Regions from separate parts of the Homo sapiens genome. Here region 2 is linked to region 1. Evidence: promoter capture Hi-C in 16 types of primary human blood cells and fetal thymus (Javierre and others, 2016). All regions are on one chromosome and are shown on one strand. Each heading gives the region's core, a stretch centred on a gene start or on the middle of the fragment in contact. The rest is flanking DNA. Distances are from core to core; before and after follow the strand shown. Region 1 holds the start of KIR2DL3 (killer cell immunoglobulin like receptor, two Ig domains and long cytoplasmic tail 3). Region 2 overlaps NLRP2 (NLR family pyrin domain containing 2).

Region 1 (5,301 bases), core at 1,363-3,862:
GAAAATTATCAGAAGCATGGCAGCAGGAGAGACCACACTGACACCTTCCAGTACTGGAGACAGAAATTGGACCCTATTTTTCCTGGGCTAAAATCAAGGCATCTGCAGGGCTTTGTTCCCTCTGGAGACTCTGGAGAATCAGTTCCTTGACTTTTCCAGCCTCTATAGGCCACCTGCATTCATGGATCTTGGCCTTCCTCCACCTTCAAAGCTGGTGAAGACTTCCACTGGACTGCTCTAATCCCCACTCCCCTCTTCCTCCTCCTTTCATGTGCACCCTTGTGATTACACTGAGCCCAGTGGGACAGTCCAGGCTGTCTCCCCATGAGCTCCATCTTCCCCTTCAGTCCCTTCCCCTATAACATAAATAGTCACAGACTCCAGGGATTAGAATGTAGTCATCACTGGGGACAATTATTCTTCCCACCACAGCACCCATTTCCCTGTATTCAATCCCCCTTTACCACAAATACAGTCAGGGCCTGCGTGATGGGACCCTCAAGGACATGCCCAACAGAAGCTCTGGGATTCAGGAGGTGGGACAAGGAGAATCCAAGACAGGAGCCCTCTGACCTATGACCACGATCACCAGGGGGTTGCTGGGTGCTGACCACCCACTGGGGGAGTGTGTGTGTGAACCCCGACATCTGTATGTCCCTGTGTGTGCGGGGGTCACAGGGCCCATGAAAAGGCTGTTCCAGAATATTCTGTTGTAGAGCTCAGGGACAGGCACCCCACCTTCCTTTTACAGACTGAAGTTGTTAAACCCAAGATAAGAGTGACACCGAAGAATGACATGTCCTAGAGGCACCACAAGGCTGGGCCAGGCAGACAGCAAGGGCTTGTCCTGACCACCTTGGGGAGAAGGAGGCGCCGCCTTAGAGAGGAGGATGTGGAACTGCCCTTCCCTCCCTGTGCTCAGAAGATTCTCCTCGCTTTCCACGTTTCTATGGCTACTATCACACCTTGGTGCCCAGGGCTGAAGGAAGGACCCATCCCGCAAAGACATGGTGTCTCCCTACAACAAAAGCCTCAGCTGAGAACTTTGAGCAAGTGCTGAGTAAAGAGACTCCTACTAGATTTTAATACTGTAAGATTACTCACATAAAACAACACAGGGTAGACATGAGGTGGAGGGCATGTCCTTTGTGAATGGATATCAGCGGATGCCTGAACGAAAATAAACAACTGAGCCCCCATCAGAGGATTTGGAATGTCAGGGCCATGGCTGTGGTTTCCCACCTCTTCTGGTAGAATGACAGCAGCCACACTGCAGCCCCTACCATCATGGAAACGCTGAAGTGTGTGAGTAACACCTTTGTCCTCAGAGGATCTGCTGTTCCTACCACTTCCCAACCACACACCCCAGCTTTGAGCACCCCAGTCTAACCCTGGTCCCCACAGAACTTGACTCTGCCAAGGGGTTGAGAGGCCAGGGAGGCGAGGTCAGAAATGTGGGCTGAGCACCCCAGGGTCCTCTCTTCCTAGTTTATGAGAGACTCCCCGACAGGACTTCCCTCCTGTTTCAGGAAAATCCTCTTATGTGGGGAGATGACACCCGAAGGTTTGGAGAAGGACTCACCCTCATGTGGCCAGGCCCCCTGCAGCAAGAAGAACCCTGGAAAGAAAGATCATGATGGACCATCCATCTGCAGGCAAACCAGGCCTCCCTTGCTGCCCCCACTGGGCTGTGAGTCTTGGCAGCCAGGCCCTTCCTGGGCTGAAGTTAAACTCACCCTCAGTGCCTACCTGCACCCAAGAACAGGGCTGTCGGCTGTGCAGAGACCCAGTTTCCAGGCCCATATCCCCACCCCAAGCCCATATCTCCACTCCAGGCTGATATTTCCACCCTAGGCCCATATCGCCAATCCAGGCTCAGATCTCCACCCTAGGCCCCTATCTCCAATCCAGTCCCATATCTCCGCCCCAGGCCCAGATCTCCACCCTAAGCCCATATCTCCACTCCAGGCCCATATCACCTCTCCAGTCCCATATCTCCACACCCAGGCCCATATCTCCTTCCTAGGCCCATATCTCCACTCCAGGCCCAGATATCCACCTCTAGGCCCATAACTCCACTCCTGGCCCATATCTCCACTCCAGGCCCATATCTCTACTGCAGGCCCGTATCTCCACCTCCAGACCCATATCTCCACTCCAGGCCCATATCTCCACCTCCAGGCCCATATCTCCACCTCCAGGCCCATATCTCCACTCCAGGCCCATATCTCCACTCCAGGCCCATATCTCCACTCCAGGCCCCTATCTCTACTGCAGGCCCATATCTCCATCTCCAGGCCCATATCTCCATCTCCAGGCCCATGTCTCCACTACAAGCCCATATCTCTACTGCAGGCCCATATCTCAACCTCCAGGCCCATATCTCCACTCCAGGCCCAGATCTCCACTCCAGGCCCAGATCTCCACTTCTAGGCCCATCACTCCATCTCTAGGCCCATAACTCCACTTCCAGGCCTATATCTCCAACTCTGGGCCCCGATCTCCATCCCCGCACTCCCTCCCTCGATGCCCTTCCAGGACTCACCAACACACACCATGCTGACGACCATGAGCGACATGGTGCTGTCTGTGCAGACAGGCGGCCGCGCCCCAGCTCAGCTCAGCAGCGCACAGGATGTTATTTGGCGCCCTGCCCATGCAGTTTACATGTTGACCACATCATGGGAGGGTGACGTACGCAGGCTCTTTCTACCTTGCATGAGGCCCAGTGGGTGCTCGCTCAAGAGCGGAACATGGCTTCCTGGAAATTGTTCTCACTAGAATTGACACCTTGCGTCCTTCACTACGACCAGACTCAAAAGACGTCTCAGATCCAACCTCTCATACACGAGATGATTGAATTCTGTGCTTACATTAAAGATTTTTGATGTATTTTTGTTTTTATCTGAGATTCAAACTCTTCTTCATATGTAATGTGCAAAATGTCTAACAGGTATTATTAACATTATCAGAGTAATTGTGACAAGAAGCCATTCTAATTTTCCTGCTTGAGTTTCTACTACTAAACCAGAGGCATCAGAATAGCTTGAACCTGGGAGACGGAGGTTGCAGTGAGCTGAGCTCAAGCCACTGAACTCCAGCTTGGGTGACAGAGGAAGAGTCTGTCTCAAGAAAAAAAAAAAAAGCAAACTAAATAACCTATAATAACAAATCAGAGGACTCAGGTTACCAAATTTTAAGGGGTTCTATAAGTTTATATAAAATGCAGCATCCTCATGAGAGGGGATACAGAGAACCACTGGACAGAAAACTGTGTCTAAAATACATCTGTGGATACACAGTCCCTTTATAGTTGACAAAGGCTGCCATGTAGTTTAAGGTGGAATAGAATATTTTCTCAACAAATAACACAGGACCATAGGGTTACACGTAGGAAAAAATAAATCTAAACTTATCCTCACACTATAAAAACACTTCTTATTTTTTATCTTGTTGTTGTAAATTTTTTATGCTTTATTTTTAAGATTGACAAATAAAAATTATATACCATGGTCCTTCACTATACCTGGGTGATTGGTTCCAGGATCCCCATTCAGATACCAAAATCTGCAGATGCTCAAGCCCCTTGCATGAAATGGCATAGTGAAGCTGGGCACCGTGGCTCACGCCTGTAATCCCAGCACTTTGGGAGGCTGAGCTGGGTAGATCACAAGGTCAGGAGTTCAAGACCAGCTGGTCCAACATTCTGAAACCCCATCTCTACTAAAAATATACACACAAAAAAATTTATCTGTGCATGGTGGCACGTGCCTGTAATCCTAGGGGAGGCTACTGGGGAGGCTGAGGGAAGAGAATCGCTTGAACCTGGAAGGCGGAGGTTGCAGTGAGTTGAGATCACGCCACTGCACTCCAGCCTGGGTGAGAGAGTGAGACTGTCTCAAAAAAAAAAAAAAAATAGCATAGCAATTGCATAGAACCCATGCACATCCTCCTGTATACATGAAATCATCTCTTGATTACTTATAATTCCTGACACAGCCTACACGCCACTCAATTTGTGTCGATTCAACATAGTTTTTTGCTTTTTGAAACTTCGGGGATTTTTTTTCTCAAAATATTTTTGATTTATTGCTGATTCAATAAACATGTGTAAACCCCAGAGATATGGAGGAGTGACTGTCTATTTATAGTAGTATGAAAGATGATGTGTTGATACGTGTCCCTGTGGAGATGAGACTAACAAGGCCTATGACTCTACAAATGTTTCATCGTGGAATGACTCTGCCAGCTTTCCAGATCTGCAGAGAGTAAGAATATCACTTGTTCATCTGATTCACCATCCTTGGAACCTCCTATGTGCTGCATCTTTGGATGGAAATTGGAGTCTCAGAGACAATTCAGGCTCCACCATGCTTCCAGAAGCTCAGAGTCCAGGGCTGAGAACCCAGCGGAGAACAGATGGGGTTATGTGGACGTGGTAATGATAACACCGGAAGCCTTAGGCAAGAAAAGAGTCCCATTGAAGAAACCATGAGGGCAGACATGTTTACTTGAAGAATAGAAAACTACATTGAAATTATAAAAAAAATTTATAAGTTTTACTGCTGACAGAAGGCTGAAAGATACTCTGAGGAAAGGTGGAATAGCACGTATCTAAGTGCCGTGTTAAGAGGGAGCCTCTTATATGTTTGGAATTGTGAGTTCCTCAGTGTGATCGCAGCCTCAAGTAGACTAGGAAGTAAGCCAGTTAGGTTGGAGAGGTGGGCAGGGGTCAAGTGAAATGGAGAATTGTGGGCTAAGCAAGTGTGTTTTCTCTCCAGCAGGCAGTGGGGACCTTAGACATTTGTAAGCAAGAGAGAGGCATGTTCAGATTCGTGGTGTGAGGAAGAGCGATGCCCTAAGATGCAGACTCACGCCTTCAGAGTCCAGCTGCTGGTACATGGGAGCTGGCAACCCGGTTTTGAGACAGGGCTATTGTCTCCCTAGAAGATCCCATCAAGGCCTGACTGTGGTGCTAGTGGACAGAAGACAACTTTGGATCTGCGCTCAGCATTTGGAAGTTCCGTGTTACACGCTGGTATCTGTTGGGGGTGTCTTGGGCCTCTGAGAAGGGCGAGTGATTTTTCTCTGTGTGAAAACGCAGTGATTCAACTGTGCGTATGTCACCTCCTGAGGGTCTTGTTCATCAGAGTCCTGGAGGGAGGGAAATGCTGAGTGAGGGAGGGTGCTCACATTTTCCAGGACTCTTTGGGAATAAGACTAGCCACGAGGCTGGGCGGAGGAGCACCTACCTCCCTGTTCACTGTTCTGTTCCCTGCAGGCTCTTGGTCCATTACAACA
Region 2 (5,076 bases), core at 1,745-4,244, 260 kb before region 1:
TTAGCACTTTGGGAGGCTGAGGCAGGCGGGTCACCTGAAGTCAGGAGTTCGAGACCAGCCTGACCAATATGGAGAAACCCTGTCTCTATTAAAAATACAAGATTAGCCAGGTGTGGTGGCACATGCCTGTAGTCCCAGCTACTTGGGAGGCTGAGGGAGGAGAACCTCTTGAACCCGGGAGGCGGAGGTTGCAGTAAGCCGAGATAGCGCCATTGCGCTCCAGGCTGGACAACAAGAGTAAAACTCTGGCCGGGCGGGGAGGTGGGGGGGTCAGCCCCCCGCCCAGCCAGCCGCCCTGTCCGGGAGGTGAGGGGCGCCTCTGCCCGGCCGCCCCTAATGGGAAGTGAGGAGCCCCTCTAACCGGCCAGCCGCCCTGTCCGGGAGGGAGGTGGGGGGGTCAGCCCCCCATTTTGTTCTGTACTAAGAAAAATTCTTCTGCCTTGGGATCCTGTTGATCTGTGACCTTACCCCCAACCCCGTGCTCTCTGAAACATGTGCTGTGTCCACTCAGAGTTAAACGGATTAAGGGCGGTGCAAGATATGCTTTGTTAAACAGATCCTGAAGGCAGCACGCTCGTTAAGAGTCATCACCACTCCCTAATCTCAAGTACCCAGGGACACAAACGCTGCGGAAGGCCGCAGGGTCCTCTGCCTAGGAAAACCAGAGACCTTTGTTCACTTGTTTATCTGCTGACCTTCCCTCCACTATTGTCCTATGACCCTGCCAAATCCCCCTCTGTGAGAAACACCCAAGAATGATCAATAAAAAAAAAAAAAAAAAAAAAGGAAAAAAAAAAAAAAAAAAGAAAAAAGATGCACCCCAAAAAAAAGAGTAAAACTGTCTCCAAAATAAATAATAAATAAACAAACAAACAAACTTAAAGCTTAAAAAAACCCTTAGTGTCCATATGTCTTTTGACTTACAAAGTATCTTAGGCTGAGTTTCATGTTAAATAAACAAGTAATCTATGTTTCTTCTACATAAAGATTATTTTAAGCCAGCAGTAGAGTATATTGCTTGTGAGAATTTCTGAAGTTCCCACATTCCTAGGAAGGGGCTTCTTGGTTCTTTGATGCCATGGTATCAAAATACAACTCAGGCCGGGTGCGGTGGCTCATGCCTGTAATCCCAGCACTTTGGGATGCTGAGGTGGGCAAATCACGGAGGTCAGGAGTTTGAGACCACCCTGGCCAACATGGCAAAACCCTGTCTCTACTAAAAATACAAAAATTACCTAGGTGTGGTGGTGCATGCCTGTAATCCCAGCTACTTGGGAGGCTGAAGCATGAGAATAGCTGGAACCTGGGAGGTGGAGGTTGCAGTTAGCAACCACTGCACCCCAGCCTGGGCAACAGAGTGAGACTCCATCTCAGAAAAAAAAAAAAAAAAAGAAAGAAAAAACAAAACAAAACCCCAAAACCCTGACAAAATGCAACAAACAAAACACAGCCCAGTGACAAATGGCTATCATGAGCAGGTAGACGGCAGCCGTGGCTGGGTGCAATGGTTCATGCTTATAAACCTACCTACTCAGGAACTGAGGCAGGATTGCTTGAGCCCAGGAGCTGGAGCGAGCCTGCAGCGAGCCATCATTGTGCTGCTGGACTCCAGCCTGGGGAACATAGTGAGTTCTTGCCTCAAAGGAAAAAAAAAAAAAAGGTGGCCGGGTGCGGTTGCTCACGCCTGTAATCCCAGCACTTTGGGAGGCCGAGGCGGGCGGATCACCTGAGGTCAGGAGTTTGAGACCAGCCTGACCAACATGGTGAAACCCCGTTTCTCCAAGTGAAATACAGAAATTGGCTGGGTGTGATGGCGGGAACCTGTAATCCAGCTACCAGATCAGTCTCCTACAGCAGGTCCATGTCATTATGCTTCCCCTAAACCTACCACTCTGGAGAAAGCCTGATGGGGAAGTAAATGGATCATACCTGAGTGTCCGGAGGGTGCCACTGGAACATGTCAAGGTTTCAAACAGCATCTTCACTCCACTAGACCCCAAGGGATTCTGACCCAGGTCCAGAGTGACGAGGCTCTGGTTGCAGCTGAGGGCAGAGCAGAGGTCTTCACAACTGAACGGAGGGATGGAACATCCCCACAACCTGGGGAAACACAGAAATCAACACGTTAATGCAGCCAGTGCTGATCGATGCCCTCCGGCAAGCCAAGCCCACCCTCGTGTGTTGGGGATCTGCATGACCAACAGAAGTCTCAGGCCGGGCACGGTGGTTCACGCCTGTAATCCCAGCACTTTGGGAGGCCGAGGTGGATGGATCACCTGAGGTCAAGGAGTTCAAGACCAACCTAACATGGTAAAACCGTGTCTCTACTAAATATACAGAAGTTAGCTGGGCGTGGTGACAGGCACCTGTAATCCCAGCTACTCAGGAGGCTGGGGCAGGAGAATCGCTTGAACCCAGGAGGCGGAGGTTGCAGTGAGCCGAGATCGCGCCATTGCACTCCAGCCTGGGTGACAGAGTGAGACTCCGGTCTCAAAAAACAAACAAAACGTCTCCGCCCTCAGGGCTCATCTGCTAACAGGAAAATATGGAGGCGATGAGGGGTTCTGAAGGGCAAGGGGTACAGGGAATAACTGGGGGTTCTGGCTACAATGGTTGGAGGTGAGGGGGTGAAGAGACCGAGTCATAGAGCTCGGGGGGGAGTTCTCCAGGCAGAGAAATAGCTTGTGCAGAGGCCCTGAAGATACATGTGACTGACACGTAAAATAGAACATCCAGGCAGCGGGCATGAGTGAGACAGGGAGGATTGTCAAGATGAGGTCATAGGTAAGCAGTGGCCAGCTCACAGAAGACCCTGAAGCCATCGTCAATATAGGATTTTACCTGGATTGACATAGGGAAGCACTGAGGCTTTTGAGCAGAGAGGTTAAATAACTTCCATCTTTGAAGTTATTCTTTGAGACAGTCTTGCTCTCTCGCCAGGGCTGGAGTGCTGTGGCATGATCTCGGCTCACTGTAGCCTCTGCCTCCTGGATTCAAGCAGTTCTCGTGCCTCCAAGTAGATGAGATTATAGCTATGTGCCACCATGCCTGCCTGATTTTTGTGGTTTTAGAGAGACAGGGTTTCACCTGTCTCTTTAGTAGAGACAGGCTGGTCTACGAACTCCTGACCTTAGGTGATCCACCTGCCTCGGCCTCCCAAAGTGCTGGAATTACAGGCATGAGCCACTGCACCCTGCCACTTTATTTTTTGAAACACGGTCTCACTCGGTTGCCCAGGCTGGAGTGTGGTAACGCCATCTTGGCTCACTGCAGCCTTGACCTCCTGGGCCAACCAGCAACTCAAACTTTTTGCTCCTCTACACGTGTCAGTGAGTGATTAAAAAGGCGCCTTTGTTTTTTTTGTTTTTTTTTTTTTTTTGAGACAGGATCTCACTGTCACCCAGGCTGGAGTGAGGTGACGTGATCTCAATTCGCTGTAACTTCTTCCTCCCAGGCTCAAGTGATCCTCCCACCTCAGCCTCCTGAGTAACTGGGAGCAGAGGTACACAGCCATGCTCAGCGGATTTTTGTACTTTCAGTAGAGACAGGGCTTCATTGTGTTGGCCAGGCTGTTTTTAAATTCTTGGCCTCAAGCAATCTACCTGCCTTGGACTCCCAAAATGCCAGGATTACAGGCATGAGCCACCTTGCCCATCCCGAGTCAAATTCTTTTAAGATTGCCTCCCAGATAGGATTCCAGGTTCAAGTGCATCTGATTGTAGCTAACTCACAAGGTATTTGTAAGATAGCCAAGTTGAGACCACTCACCTGCTGATAGAGCCAGCATTTTCTGGCACGATATCTAATTCCTACCTCTTTTTTATTTTTTCCTGAGATGGAGTCTTGCTCTTGTAGCCCAGGATGGAGTGTAGTGACAGGATCTCAGCTCACTGCAACCTCTGCCTCCAGGGTTCAAGTGATTCTCCTGCCTCAGCCTCCCAAGTAGCTGGGATTAAAGGCACCTACTGGCTGGGCACGGTGGCTCTCACCTGAGGTCCGGAGGTCGAGACCAGCCTGACCAACATGGAGAAACCCCGTCTATACTAAAAATACAAAATTAGCCAGGCATGGTGGCACATGCCTGTTTATTTGCAGCTATGTGGGAGGCTAAGGCAGGAGAATCACTTGAACCCAGGAGGTGGAGGTTGCAGTGAGCTGAGATCGCGCCATTACACTACAGCCTGGGCAACAAGAGTGAAACTATCTCAAAAAAAAAAAAAAAAAAAAAAGAGGCACCCACTACTATGCTCGGCTAATTTTTATATTTTAGTAGAGATGGAGTTTCAAGTTGGCCAGGCTGGTCTTGAGCTCCTGACCTTAAGTGATCCGCCCGCTTCGGCCTCCCGAAGTGCTGGGATTACAGGTATGAGCCACTGTGCCTGGCCCAATTCCCACCTCTCTGAATGTGGGGTGCTGGGCAGTGGCTTTTGGCTGAATGGCTTGAGGCACTGTATCCTTAAAATTTCACAGGTGTTCTTTGCATGACACAGACTAGAACTTAGACATAGGGCCTGGCGCAGTGGCTCACGCCTGTAATCCCAGCACTTTGGGAGGCCGAGATGGGCGGATCACCTGAGGTCAGGAGTTTGAGATGAACCTTCAACATGGCGAAACCCTGTCTCTACTAAAAATACAAGAATTAGCTGGGCATGGTGGCGGGCGCCTGTAATCCCAGCTACTCGGGAAGCTGAAGCAAGAGAATTGCTTGAACCTGGGAGGCGGAGGTTGCAGTGAGCCAAGATCACGCCACTGCACTCCAGCCTATGTGACAAGAGCAAAACTTCAAGAAAAAAAAAAACAAAAACTTAGACATAGACTAGAACTTATTCCTTTAACCATCCTAGTAAATGCTCGATCGACTCTATAAAGGTCCTCTCAATTATATAACTTGGGAAGTCGGCTTCACTGATTATTTTACACTAGCCACAGATTCAGTAAGGTGTAAGTATAGGAAGTTGAACTTATAAGTTAACTCACCACAGACATCTCAAGTTGCACAGTGGTTTCCTCAAAGCCTCACACAGGAACTTCATTCCCTTAACTCCTATGTGATTCAGCCCCAGATCCAAACACAAC

Evidence for each region. Contacts are between HindIII fragments. The CHiCAGO score rates a contact against its expected background, and 5 or more counts as called.
Region 2: a fragment that was not itself captured here is called in contact with the fragment with the promoter of KIR2DL3 in region 1 in 1 of 17 cell types (M1 macrophages); the score reaches 5.1 in M1 macrophages.

What each region holds. Positions count from the first base shown.
Region 1 is chr19:54,735,824-54,741,124 of GRCh38, reverse strand. It overlaps KIR2DL3 (killer cell immunoglobulin like receptor, two Ig domains and long cytoplasmic tail 3), which reads right to left and starts at 2,612. Exons shown (of 8, transcript NM_015868.3): 1 at 2,546-2,612; 2 at 1,583-1,618. The coding sequence starts at 2,579. KIR3DL3 (killer cell immunoglobulin like receptor, three Ig domains and long cytoplasmic tail 3) reads right to left here. Exons shown (of 8, transcript NM_153443.5): 7 at 5,253-5,301; 8 at 4,493-5,154. The coding sequence ends at 5,029. RefSeq lists an enhancer at 4,559-5,301. The HindIII fragment of the contact is 12,642 bases long and covers 1-5,301 here.
Region 2 is chr19:54,994,341-54,999,416 of GRCh38, reverse strand. NLRP2 (NLR family pyrin domain containing 2) reads right to left here. Exons shown (of 13, transcript NM_017852.5): 11 at 4,978-5,076; 12 at 1,930-2,100. Among named protein-coding and RNA genes, the nearest start is that of GP6-AS1, 9.3 kb to the left of the region's middle. The HindIII fragment of the contact is 4,215 bases long and covers 887-5,076 here.